Linked DNA regions of Homo sapiens: region 2 is linked to region 1. The links are contacts of gene promoters, found by promoter capture Hi-C in human tissues and cell types (Jung and others, 2019). All regions are on one chromosome and are shown on one strand. The core of a region is centred on a gene start or on the middle of the fragment in contact, and the rest is flanking DNA. Distances in the headings are between cores, read along the strand shown.

Region 1 (6,694 bases), core at 2,589-5,088:
GGTTCCAACCCAACAGGGCCTTCACTGCTCTGAGGCTTGCTCGTGCCCTCACCCCTCTGAGTCCTCGTCTGTAATATGGTGATAATCCCAGTGCTGGTCCTAACGGGTCACTGTGATGATTACATGAGGCAAAGTGAAGACCCAGACCTGGCCTGGCACATGTTGGTATTCACTGAATGTTGGTTCCTGTCCCCAGTGAGTGATTTCAGGGACCAGGGAAGAAAAAGGTGCTGTGACACCAGCAAATCCTGAGGGAAGGCAGGGGCTGAAGATGGAGAAGAATCCACAATTCATCCCAGAGGCCTTGGATCCTCTCTCCACATACCATCCAGGATCCCAGTGTGGCTACAAGATGCTGACAAGGCACTCCCAGGAGACTGGGAAGGGTGAGCTGGAAAGGTCTCAGAGACCAAAGCAGGCAAAAGCTGCTGTGTTGCCTGTGACAGAATGAGGGCTCAGCATCAAATTCGCAGATCCCCCTGGGCAGTTGGGGTCACTGTCTTCCCTTTCCCTCATCCCTAAGCTGGGCAGTCACCTCCCCCTGTCCAGGTCAGGCTCAAGAGACCTGCTGCAACAGCCTCGCTCCTGGCCTGACTCCAACTGCCAGCCATGCTGGCACCAGAACGCACTTCCCAACAGAAGTCTGGGACCCTACTACAGCTCCCTCTTTAAAACCCATCCCACAGAGACAGCTTTCTAGTCTAGAGGCCTGTGACTCTTCTAGAGCCACCTGCCTTTTTGCACACGTTGTTCCCTCTGATGCAAAGATACCCTTCTTTGTCTACCAGCAAACTCTCACACATTTCATTCAAAAAGCCACCTCCTCTGTGAGGCTTTCCCAGTCTAACCTGCCGCTCATCCAGGAAAGGCCACCCATCCTGTGAGCGCCCATGGCCCTTGGGCTGCCCCCGACAAGGTACTGGCCCACTTCTGTGGCCATCTACGAATCTGTGTCTACCTCCTTGCCTGCACGAGCCTGGCCACATGAAGGTGATAAATCAGATGAATGAAATGTCATGGACAGAAAGCTCCCTTCTGCTTTGTGGGGAACATAACAATTGGTGCAACCCTGCAGGATGCTTAGGGCTCTGCCCGCTGGTGAGATCAGGTTTAGGACCAGAGTCAATGCTGTCTCTGCCTTCTATTGTCAGTGCAATCCAATGAATGTCTGCACAATGTAATACACACTACAAACCACTTTTTATTTATTTGCACATGTAATTCATTATCTTATTTAATACACCAAATCAGTGGAGCAAGAATTAGTATCCTCACATTTTAAATAAGTTACTTGTCCCAGGCCACAGAGGTAGGAAGCAATGGGGTGGGAGTAAAATCTGGGTCCCTTTGACTCTAAGAGGCTGGATCACTCGCCCTCCAGATTGGTCTCTCGGCCTCCAGCACCACCCACAAGCCAGAGACGGGTTTCATAGAATTACCAACCGCACCCTGCTGTGCCTGTTTAAATCCTCCAGGAGCTCTCCATTGCCTACAGGCTCAAATCCCCCTTCTCGGCCTGACATTCAAGGCCTTGGTGATTTGGTCCCTGCCTTCCCAGCCTCAAGTTCACTTCCAATTCACCACCCTCAAGACCTTGCGTCTGCTGGTCCACCATGCTGACCACCTGTGCTGTTTTCATGCACAGGTCCTGCACATGCTGATCCTTTTGTGGGAGATTCTTCCTGCCTCCCCTGTGTACCCACTGACTTCAAAACCATGAGCAGGAGGAATCTCCTGTCAGGCCCCTTCTCCGGGTTATTCCCACAGAACCCCTCTTAGGACTTGTTTTGGCCAGGTGGCTTTCAGGGAGGACCCAACCCTCTTTAGGAAGTGTCCTCAGTGCCCAGGCCAGCCTTGCTCTGAAAACTGAAGCATGAACTCTTAACTGCATCCCCTGTGTTGACCCAGGAGTTATGATTAAGAAGAAGACTGATCTGGACTTTACCACCACAAACTGTCATTTAAAAAGTAAGAGGAGAAAAGGTCAATCCCCCTCCCTTCCCTCTCCATTTTTGACTCATTTATCAGCTTTTGCCTTTCCTGGTGTTGGAGGAAGGGTAGGTGGAAGCCCGGTGGCGGTTGCATTGCAGCCTTCCTGGGGAGCAAAGTAGTGCCTCGGAATAGGTCAGGTCAGAATGGAGGTGTAGGTTAAACATCAAAGTGTTTCTGGGTTCTGGGATCTGAAGCAGTCAGCCAGAACAGAAGAGGCTATCAATACCTCCCCTTCCAGAAGGGAAACTGAGGCCGGAGAGGGAAAGGAAAATGCCCACAGTTGTTTCTTTCCCAGGTTAGCGGCCTGTGCCCTTCCATCATGTCTGCAGCATCCGACAAAGTTCTAGGTTAAAGACTGGAGTGAGCAGTGGGGAGGAGGGTGTTTACGGTTATCTTTGCGACTTAGGCTCAAAAGCCCAGCAGGCTCCTGCAGCTCTGAGCACCCCCCCCCCCCCACCTCCGGTCAGCCCCAGGCACTGCAAGTCTAGACTTATCCGAAGGGCAGGGCGCACAAAGATGAAAGAAGAATCGAAGGTCTTGAGTCACCTCCTCGCCAGGCCAAGTGTGGGCTGGCGCTGCTCTCCGCCCGGCTCCAGAGGCGCGGGTTATTCCCACCGCACGCCCCGAGCCGCGAGGGAGTTCTCGCCCTGTCCGTGCCAGAGTGACCGCGACTCCGCGAAGCTGAGCAACTTGCCAGCGCCGCACAGGGGCCAGTGGCCGTCCCAGTTGAAACCTGTGTATGTGAGGCTCCCACGGCCCCCAGCCCAGCTCCGGGTCCTGTGAGCCGGCGCCTCGGGCATGCCCAGATCTGGACTGGCAGTCCCCCTCTCCCCTACCGGGTCCGAGGGTTGGCCCCCTACCCCGGGGGCGGGCTGCAAACGGAGAGTGGGTCTCAAAGCGGAGCCTGTCTCCCTACCAAACAGACGCAACTCTGGATCACACTCTTTCCAAGAAGCGCGGGGAGGGCAACGCCAGCCGCCCTGTCCCTTCCTCTCCCCAGCCCAGGGCCGGAGCCTGGGACCCACCGCTCGCCTCTTCCTCCCAGCCGGGGTCTGAGGGGGAGTCCGCACGCTCCGCCCAGCCCCTGCCCAGCCAGTCCCCAGGCGCTGCCGATCCCCCGACCACCAATCCCGTCGCAGCCCCTTGCTGTCCTGGGACCTCAGGAGGGGGAGGGGGAGGGCTGTCTGCGCCCCCGGCCGGGTAGCGGTGGGGAGGACTGGGGCTGTTGCCCGAGGAACCGGGAGAAAAGTTTGGAGCCAAGTCGTGGGCCCGAGGGGACGGCGGGGGAGCGGGGGGGTGGGGCGGCGTTGGGCTCTCGGTGCGCACACCCTCTGCGGACACCCAGCCCAGACACGTCGGCAGGCACCGACCACGTACGCGGAGACACGCGATGCGCCCACCGACGCCCACAGCCAAGCGCAGGCCCGCAAACGTGGACACGGGCGCAAAGCAGCCGCGCAAAGCCACGGACACACAAAGGCACCGACAGCGGCGCGTCCCCGACCGCAAATCCACAAAGACCCACAAACGTGAGATGCACGTGTCCGCACAAAGACCCACACGGCCCCTGGGCGTAGCCTTTGTCTCCCGCAAGACCTCTCCCCTGGGTCGGCGTTCCCCACTCCCGCCCAGCCCTAGGCGTCCGACGAAAGTTGAGGGGCCTCGGCGGGACCCAGCCCCGCCCCTGCGCCCGGCGTCCCCAGCCCGCCCTCCGAAGGGGCCGCGAGGCTAGGATCGGGGACTTGGGATCTTCAACCGCAGCGCGGACTCTCGCCCCGCCCGGGGAACTGCACTCACCTGGAAGCCTGCGCCACAGCCGCCTCGGCACGCTCACCCCGGCGGCCCGGCCGCGGGCCCTCCGGCCAGCGCTTTTCTCCGCGCGGCGCGGCCCGCCCCCCGGTCCCCGCCCGCAGCCAGGCTCCCCCCTGCCGGGCGCCGGGTGGCGGCTCGGGCCGGCCGCGGGGCGGCTCAGGGAGTGTCGCCAAAGTGCCAGCCTCTCTCGGCGCGCGCCCCGCCCGCGGAGCCTGAGCCGAGCCCGGGTTCCACTCTAGGGAGCGTCTCAAAAGTGCGCTGCTCCCGCCCCCTCTAGTTGGCCTCGCTCACAGCTTCCTGCATCCCGGATCCCTGCCCCCTCCCCCTGCGCGCCCCAGCAATCTAAGCAGATGGCCGCACTGTCGGGAACATCTGGAGGTCGCCGGAGTACGTGCCTGTGTATGTGTATGTGTGTGTATGACTGTGTGTGTGGAAAGAGAGAGGGAATTAGTTGCTAGTAAGAAAGAGATTTGGTGGGTGGGTGAGGGCTTCCTCTTTGCTTGTTCACCGCCCCTCCCCATTTTTTTTTAAAGAGTGAAAGAGGTTCAGGGACTACCGGGAGCAAGAAACCAAGAATCTGAAGCAGAGAAAGACTGGCTGAAAGACGAACCCACAGAGAAGAGAGAGCCCGGCTCGGGCAGAAAAGCTGGCAGGAGAGGAGAGAGAAAGTCAACAGATTGAGTTTTTCTTTTAGGAGGAAACCATTGGCTTCTGGTTAGAGTTCTAAGAAGGGAAACTGGCGTGTGAGTAGGCAGCAGTTTCAGTCTATTCCCCCTGCTGTAGCTCTTGGGCTCTCACCCCTCTTTATGTTAAAAAAAAAAAAAAAGGGCAGGAAAGCATCCAAGACACTTTAAAATGAGGGTTTGCAGGAGAAATGACCTGGTGGACGCATTTCCTAGGAGGGGAGAGTCAGGTGTGTGGGTGGCTCCCAGTCTACACACCCCGACAATGCCTACCTTGGGAGAGGGGCAGTTCACAGGTGGGAGAGTTGATAGAGGCTTTGGTCTTGGGCCCTGGACCTCCCAGGAGCTTCTCCTAGACTTTGGAGGGCCTCGGGGTGCAGAAATTGGGCAATGTACCTCCTGCAGTGGCCCAGACTTGTTAACACACCCAGTCTGCTTGCTGCTTCTTTCCTTATTACTTTTTCTTATTCATTAAAAAAAAAAAAAAAAAAAGGAGTTGCTTGGGCCTGTGTGTGCATGCATGCCGGTCTACTTGGGGAAGAAGGAAGACACTAGAGAGGTGGTGAGGTAGGAGTGGAGACCACTGCCCCAGGCCTCAGGCCAGCAAAATCATCTGCTGCCCAGAAAACAAACTGGTCTTGCAGGTCCTTTCTGCACTCAGAGCCATTGTGTGGTCTTGGGGATGCACTTGGGTTGACACCTGTGGACCCTGCCAGTTAGGAATGTGCAGAGAAAAGGCTAGGAGCCTGGTCTCATATGTGTGGAAGCAGGGAGAACTCCCGTCTCTCCTCTCCATTCATTGTCCTCTCCTGATTAGAATCCCAGCTTTCAGAACTAGGAGTCCTTCTGTGATCATCCAGCTCACACTCCTTATCAGTCTTTGGGATGGCACCATGGGCCCTTTGGTATCCAGTGTCTTCCTCACTGTTGGGCTTAAAAGGGCTGCAGGGATTCAACTCCACAACCCCTGGGACCCATAGAGAGGAGTCGGGCCCCTCCCATTTCCCACCCTCCCATTCCCTCCCCTCTCTAAAGGCTCCTGGCCTAGATGGGAGAGAGACCTGCAATCAGCATCGGGTGAGGGCCAAGCTTGGTCAGGATTCAGGTTCCAGCCCTGCCACTTACCAGCTCTGGGTAACTTTAGGCAAGTTACCTAACCTCTCTGAGACTCAGTGTCTGCAACTGTAGAAGAGGCTATTGTGAGGAATAAACAAGGTAATTTAGGTAAAGCATTAGTCTGGCTCACAGGAAGCTCCTTTGTGTGGTTGCTAAATGTCTTCCGTCAGGGACTGGGGTAGAGACTGGAAAGCCCAGCAGGCTTGGGAGGGGAGGGTGCCCGGGAATGACCTCTGGACTCCCTGGCTTGTCTAGCTTATATTCCTCCTGCTTCCTCCCCTCCCATAGGGACATTCTTTTGAAGGAATGGCGCCCCCCTCCCCTTGCCCTAGACTAACGATTTCCATCCTCTCCTCCATGTGGAATTGTTTAGCGAGTCTCAAGTTCAGCATCTGAGAACTGGAGATGAAAATACCCAACTGCCCGGGAACTCAGGGAAGCTAACTCCCACTGCACTGTGTGTGCAGGTTCTAGCCAGCTGGGCTGGAGGCTCCAGGCCTCACATTTAACATAAAAGTAATCAACAACCCTTCACACTGGCTGGTAGCTGGCAGCAGTTTCTGAGCACTTTCACATTCATCATTTCCCTTGACCTCCCCTTAGGGAGAGGTGGCCTTGAGGGGCTTCAGCTGGTGGATCTCCATGAACTTTACCCACCTCCCCTCATCACTGTGCCTCCAGTTGAGAGTCTCTGTGCCTCTAGACTCTCCTCTTCTGTCTGCTGTCCACATTCCAGCAAGAGTGCCCTTTCTAAACTGCAGATCTGCAGAATGGATCATGACACTTGCCTGCTTAAAACCTTTCAATGGCAAAAGCCAAACTGCTTGGTGTGGCATTCAAGGCCTATGTGATATGCCCCCACCTCACCTTAACTCTCCAGCATCAGTTCTGGCCACCCCCTCTTACACATCCCAAGTTTTAGTCCCCTAGTCACCTAGAAGTAAGGGAAGGGAGGTGGACCTTCTCCATTCTTCATGTCTGTTCAGTGTCTTCGCCCCCAGGGAGTCCTCTCTCTGGCGAAGTTGGCCTCTCCATCTGTGATATTGCCATGTCCTTTGTATATAAGCACCATCATTTTCACCGTTCTCTTC
Region 2 (6,694 bases), core at 1,510-4,009, 260 kb before region 1:
TTGCAAGCCCTTGACAAATGGCAGCTAGGGGCAGGGAATTCAGAATTAATGTCACTCAGTAGTCCAGAATGAGAGCTCGCATCATGGAGGTCTGTGTGGAAGAAGCACCCTTGTTTGATTCATTTTTGTGCATTATTTCATTACTGTTGATTTATTCCACAAATATTGACTGGGCACTGTGGTGGGCATAATAACGGCCGCCCAAAAAGTTGCCCATACCCTACTGAATACCTGGAACCTGTGACTGATGCATGTTACATAAGAATGTTACATGTGGCATGTCACCATGTTACATGGCAAAGAGAAGTAAGGTTGGAGGTAGAATGAAGGTTGCTCATCAGCTGACTTTAAGATAGGAAAAGAATCCCAGGTTATCTAGGTAGGCCCAGTGTAGTTACAGGGTCCTTGGAAGTGGAAGGAGAAGGCAGGAAAGTCAGAGAGTGATGTGGCTGTGGAAGCAACGCACCAAGAGCCGCCACATGGTCGGTTTTGGAGATGGAGGAAGGAGGTCTCTGCAAGCTGGAAAAGGCAAAGAAATGGATCCTTCCCTAGCACCTCCAGTAAGGAGTGCAGTTGGTGGGTAGAGCTGTAGGGTAACAGATGAGTGTGCTTTTAAGCCAAGCTTGTGGGAATTTGTTACAGCAGCAATAGGGAACTAGTACAGTATCCTAACACAGGGGTCCCCAATCCCTGGGCCAATGACCGGTATTGGTTGTGGCCTGTTAGGAACCGGGCTGCACAGCGGCAGGTGAGCAAAGCTTCATTTGTAATTTATAGTTGCTCCCTATCGCGTGCATTACCACCTCAGCTCCGCCTCCTGTCAGATCAACGACAGCATTAGATTCTCATAGTAGCATGAACCCTATTGTGAACTGCGCATGTGAGGGATCTAGGTCGCCTGCTCCTTATGAGAATCTACTGCCTGATAATCTATCACTGTCTCCTATCACCCCCGATGGGACTGTCTAGTTGCAGGAAAACAAGCTCAGGGTTTCCACTGATTTTACATTATGGTGAGTTGTATAATTATTTCATTATATATTACCATGTAATAATAATAGAAATAAAGTGCACAATAAATGTAATGCACTTGAATCTTCCCCAAACCATCCCCCACGTTGGTCTGTGGAAATATTGTCTTCCACAAAACCAGTCCTTGGTGCCAAAAAGGTTGGGGACTGCTGTCCTAACAGATACAGTCCACATCACTGGGACAGATGGCACTCATCCACTCATCCATTCACCCCAAAAGCATGTAGGAGTATTTGTTATGGCCTGCTCAGAAAATAGATCAGCAAGTGACAAGTGGCTGTGGCTACTGAAGGCCCACGGCAAGGGCTGCAGAAAGGTCACAGAAGTGCCACCTCCTCCTGCTTCCTTCAACCTCTCAGAGCTGCCAGTAAGCCTGCAGAATGACAGTACCCTCCTATGTGGTTTACAGAGGATTTACATGGCCCTGGCATGGAACATCACTGTGGAAAGTGTATTAGTCCATTTTCACACTCCTATAAAGAATACTACCTGAGACTGTGTAATTATAAAAGAAAGAGGTTTAATTGACTCACAGTTCTGCAGATTTAACAGGAAGCATGGCTAGGAGGCCTCAGGAAACTTACAATCATGGCGGAAGGCGAAGGGAAAGCAGACACCTTCTTCATGGGCAGCAGGAGGGCGTGTGTGCGAGAATGAGGAAGTGCCGCGCTTTAAAACCATCACCTCTCGCGAGAACTCACTATCACGACAAGAACGTGAGGGAATCCGACCCCGTGATCCAATCACCTCCCGCCTGTCCAGTCCTACGTGTCCCTCCCCTGACATGTGGGAATTACAATTCAAGATGAGATTTGGGTGGGGAAACAGAGCCAAATCTTATCAGAAAGAGCGGCTCAGAGAGGTGAGATGACCTACTCAAGTTCCAGGAGTGGGAGTGATGGGACTTGCCACGGATTCCCTCTGTGTAAATCTGTGACAGCCCTGATGTAAATCAGACATGGCCTCTCCCTCTGGGAGCAGCCAGTCTACTTGGTGAAAAACAAGGGATGAAAGGGGACACAGCAGGTGACTTAAGTGCTATGGTTGGAATGTTTATGTTTCCCCGGAATTCTTTTTTTTTTTTTTTTTTTTGAGACAGAGTCTTGCTCTGTCGCCCAGGCTGGAGTGCAGTGGCGTGATCTTGGCTCACTGGAAGCTCCGCCTCCCAGGTTCACGCCATTCTCCTGCCTCAGCCTCCCGAGTAGCTGGGACTACAGGTGCCTGCCACCATGCCCGGTTAATTTTTTTGTATTTTTAGTAGAGACGGGGTTTCACTGTGTTAGCCAGGATGGTCTCTATCTCCTGACCTCGTGATCTGCCCGCCTCAGCCTCCCAAAGTGCTGGGATTACAGGCGTGAGTCACCACACCCGGCCCCCCGGAATTCTTACGTTGAAATCCTAGCCCTGAAGGTGACGTGGTGATGATGTGATGATGGCAGAACCCTCACCAATGGAATCTGGGCCGCTGTAAAAGAGGCCGTGGGAGCTTGCTTGCCCCTCCCACCATGCAGTGACACAGCAAGAAGGCAGTGAGGAATGGGCCCTCGCCAGACACCAAACCTGCTGGGACCTTGACCTTAGACTTCCCAGCCTCCAGAACTTTCAGAAATGTTTGTAAGACACCCAGTTTATGGTATTTTTGTTACAGCAGCCTGAACAGACTAAAACACTAGCAGGGCAAGGCTGCTGTAACAGTAGACAAACCCCAGAAGCTGAAAAATCATAAAAGTTTTTGTCTATATTGTTCTGTCCATAATTTTTTTTAAAAGCATAAAAGTTTATTTTGTCTTCCTCAGTAGTCTGAACTGAGTATTCCAGGTTGGTCCCCGGGCTGCTCTGCTCCGTGCAGGAACTCAGGAATCCTCGTTTCTCTGCCTTCCTCTAGGCCAGCGGTTCTCTGCTAGGGTGAATTTTCCCACCAGGGTATGTTTGGCAACGTCTGGAGATACTTTGGGTGTCATGACTTGGGCTGTGATACTGGTATCTAGTGAGTGGAGGACATGGATGCTGCTGAATGTTTTACAATGCACGGGACTGCCCCCCACAACAAAGAACCGTCCTGCCCCAAATGTCAGTAGTTGAGAAACTTCCACTTGGGCCTGAAGCATTGTCCTCACTTGCAAAGTCAGAGCTGGGTCCCAGGCCCATCCATGTTCCAGCGAATGGGAAGGAGGAAGAGAGCATAAGCAGGCCCAGGTGCCACAGTGATCCTCATCCACTCCCGTCCATCCATGAGGGCCTAGTCACAGGGCCACATCTAACTTCAGGGGACGGAGTGCTGGGAAATGGAGTCTAGGTGAGTGCCCAGGAGGAAGGGAACAGCCGACTCAGGTGGGCAGCTGGCAGCTTCCCCGACAGGCGTCCTAACTGGTGCAAGAGACATGCAGGATGGAGGTGGTTGGAGGACATTTCGGTAACTAGGTCAGAGCTTGTGCAAAATGCAGAGACAAGAGAGAGCCTGACAAAGCGCAGGCACTGCCACCTGGATGGAGGCTGACAGTGGGAGGGAGGGATCAGTGAGCAGCAGGCGGGTGGCAGGAGCCTGAAATGCAGGACTGAGGAGTCTAGTCTTCGTCCTGAAGGCAGGGAAGGACCTTTGGCCAGTCTCCTGACGTTCTGCCCCGGCTCTTTCCTCCCTGAAGGTGAGTCCCTCGTGTCCATCTTACATAGTTGGGACCTTGCTGACACACACTTCTGCCTGCCTTTAGGCCGTTTCCTTGATTTTCTATGTTGCCAAGATGACTGGCAGCTGCTGGAGGTCAGGACCACAGCCTGGTTCTCAGAGCCCCAGGCACCAAGTTCCCACCCACCCTTGCAAACTCTCCTTTTTTTTTTTTTTTTTGAGATGCAGTCTTGCTCTGTCGCCCAGGCTGGAGTGCAGTGGCACGATCTCGGCTCACTGCAACCTCCGCCTCCCAGGTTCAAGTGATTCTCCTGCCTCAGCCTCCCAAATAGCTGAGATTACAGGCACGAGCCACTATGGCCGGCTAATTTTTGTACTCCCAATAGAGACGGGGTTTCACCATATTGGCCAGGCTGGTCTCGAACTCTTGACCTCATGATCCGACCTCCTCAGCCTCCCAAAGTGCTGGGATTACAGGCGTGAGCCACCTCGCCCGGCCCCACAATCTTAACCACTGTCCACTTCGGTCTCAGATCCCCCACCTCCCGAACACAATTCTACACACCTGCCTCCACAGGCTCCCCAACACTGGCCTCCATGTTCCCACCAGCCTTTCTCCACTTCGGACTCCCCGGAACTCCCTGCTGGGTTGTCCAAGGCCCACTGAGCCTGAGGCCCAGACCCCGGCAAGGAGCCTGTCTCTGACCCGTGGGGGTGATTATTGGCGGGCAGGACCCAACTAGGCCATTAGCTTTGGTTGGGGTGAGTGTGGAGGGGACCACAGTGGTGTGCTGTCTGGGAATGCCACGGCCCTGGATTAGTCACTGTCTGACCGGGCCTCTGGTTTCCACTTTGCACGGTGAAGATTTCTACCTCACGGTGTACTGGGGTAGTGGTGGGAAGAAGGCCACCACATGCGCCTCAGCTGCGTGTTGGCTGACTTCTTGGGGGAGGGGGAAGCGGGATCCACCTGATACTGTCAGCCCAGCTCCAGCTCCACTCACTTGTAAACAGTGGAAATCACAACTGACATTTGTAGGCACATGGCAGGGGGCGCTGATCCTGGCTCCCACGCTCCCAGGTCTCCCTTGCTCCACTGCTCAAGAGGACCCGAGTGTGGGAGCGAGGGGCCCGGAATTCTTGCAGAGAGGGCGGTGGAGCTGGCTTTGCGAGGATGAAGAGATAGTCTAGCCGAGTGGTCCTCAGGCCTAGCTGCACATTCGCATCACTGGAGGAACTTAAAAAATACTTAACATGTCTGGGTCCACCCCAGACTAATCAAATCGAAACTTCGGGAGATGGAGCCAGGATGTAGGCATTTTCCACACCCCCCACCCCAGCTGATTTCAGTGCGCAGCTGGGGTTCAGGTGCACAGAGCTGGGCAGGACGTAAGGTACCCAGAGCGGGAAAGCTGCCTTCTCAGCATGGACATGGTTGGAGGCCCGGGGCTGAAGCCGCCCAACTGGCCTCAGGAGACCCGGTGTCCCCGGTCACAGCTGAGCGCGGGGCTGTGCAGCGCCTTCCACATGAGCAGCATCTCGTAGGGCGCGAAGCGGTGCACTAGCAGCAACTCGCGGTACATGCAGGGGTCGAAGGAGGACTGCTGTGCGCCAGGCAGCTGCACGCCGAAGGGTCGGATGCCCTCGTGGCCGCTGGGCGCCAGGCCGGCGCGCTCCAGACACATGCCCATGTAGGCGTCGTCGATGGGGAAGAGCGGGGTGTGGCGGGCGGCCGCGCGCAGGGCCCGGGCCGTGGGGCCGGACAGGAGGAAGCCGCCGCCGCTGCAGTACACCGGGTAAGCGGACCCGGGGAAGAGCTGCGGCGGCACGAAGTACTTGCTCCAGCTGTCGCGGATGGGCACGGAGCCCTCCATGAGCTGGCCGGAGAACAGGTGGCGGCCGGGTGGCTGCGCCTGCAGGAAGCGGACTACGTTGGCGGTGTGCACGAACACGTCGTCGTCGCCGCTGAGCAGAAAGCGCGCGTGCGGGCAGCGTGCAGCCAGCCAGTCGAGCAAGTGCAGGTGCTTGAGCGTGAGGTTGAGGAAGGTGTCCGCGAAGGCCCACTGCAGCACGTCGCCGTGCTCGCGCGCCTCCAGCGCCACCAGCTCCGCCAGCCGCTCCGCGCGCGCCTCGTCCTCGGGGCCCGGGGTGCCCAATAGAAAGAGGCGGCGCACTGGCCGCCCGCCGTAGCTGCGCTCTTGCCCCCACGTGCGCCGGATGAGCTCGCGTCGCTCGTAGTGCTCAGGCGCCGACTTCACCGCCAGGAGCAGGAACACGCCTCGGCCGCCGGCGCACTTGGCCGGTGCGTCCCAAAGCAGCGGGAAGTGGCGGCAGTGGCGGTACCGCAGGAAGTCCTGGATGCGCGCGGGCAGCTGCTCGAAGTCGGCCGTGGCGTTCGCCGAGGCGTTCGCCACGCACGGGGGCCCGGGGACGAGCTCCGAGGGCGGCTCGTCAGCCGCGGGAGCGTCGGTGGGACCCTCTGGCGTCTCCTCCTGCGGGGACCTCTCCTCCCGCGGGGACCTTGGCGCCTGGAGGAACCACTGCTGCAGTGCTAAGAAACTCACGCCCACCAGGAGGCAGGCCAGAGTCTTGGCAGTCAGGGACCTGCGGCAGGGAAAAGCCATCTGTGGGGGAAACCGAGTCAGAGGTGAGCCGGAAGTCGTCTTTGACACCGGCAGGACACCACCCGTACCCCGTCACTTCTCTCCCAGAACCCAGCTCCAGCCCCTTCTCAACTCTGCTGTTAAGTGGTAAAAAGGAATCAAAATCCAAGATTACACTGACGGTCTCTGGTCTCCCACACTCCGGACCGTTCCTCTGACCTTCAGATTTGAGTCTCTCTTTGCCTCCTGACAACACCGCCCCACAACCCGTCACATAGGCCCAGTGGACTCATCGTCTGAGTCTCCATCTTCCCCTGAACCCATACCCTGCTGTTCCCACCTCCGTTCACCTGACTACTCCAGCCAGAAGCCCCAGCCTTCTTCCTTGTCCTTCTCAGCTGCTACCTGCTCTCCGCATCCTGTTGATTCTGCGCCC

Evidence for each region. The method cuts DNA at HindIII sites, captures the fragments that hold promoters and counts their contacts. A contact is called where the count stands out against the background at its distance.
Region 2: a contact is called between a fragment that was not itself captured here and the fragment with the promoter of TSKU in region 1, in 1 of the 25 tissues and cell types used here (bladder).

The regions. Positions count from the first base shown.
Region 1 is chr11:76,780,500-76,787,193 of GRCh38, reverse strand. TSKU (tsukushi, small leucine rich proteoglycan) reads right to left here and starts at 3,838. Exons shown (of 2, transcript NM_015516.4): 1 at 3,790-3,838. TSKU-AS1 (TSKU antisense RNA 1) reads left to right here and starts at 4,132. Exons shown (of 2, transcript NR_120562.1): 1 at 4,132-4,191; 2 at 4,338-4,613. RefSeq lists enhancers at 223-1,145, 3,533-4,177, 4,412-4,601 and a silencer at 3,892-3,981. The HindIII fragment of the contact is 14,629 bases long and covers 1-6,694 here.
Region 2 is chr11:77,039,137-77,045,830 of GRCh38, reverse strand. B3GNT6 (UDP-GlcNAc:betaGal beta-1,3-N-acetylglucosaminyltransferase 6) reads right to left here. Exons shown (of 2, transcript NM_138706.5): 2 at 3,858-6,279. The coding sequence starts at 6,279. The coding sequence ends at 5,125. Among named protein-coding and RNA genes, the nearest start is that of ACER3-AS1, 6.8 kb to the right of the region's middle. The HindIII fragment of the contact is 4,138 bases long and covers 691-4,828 here.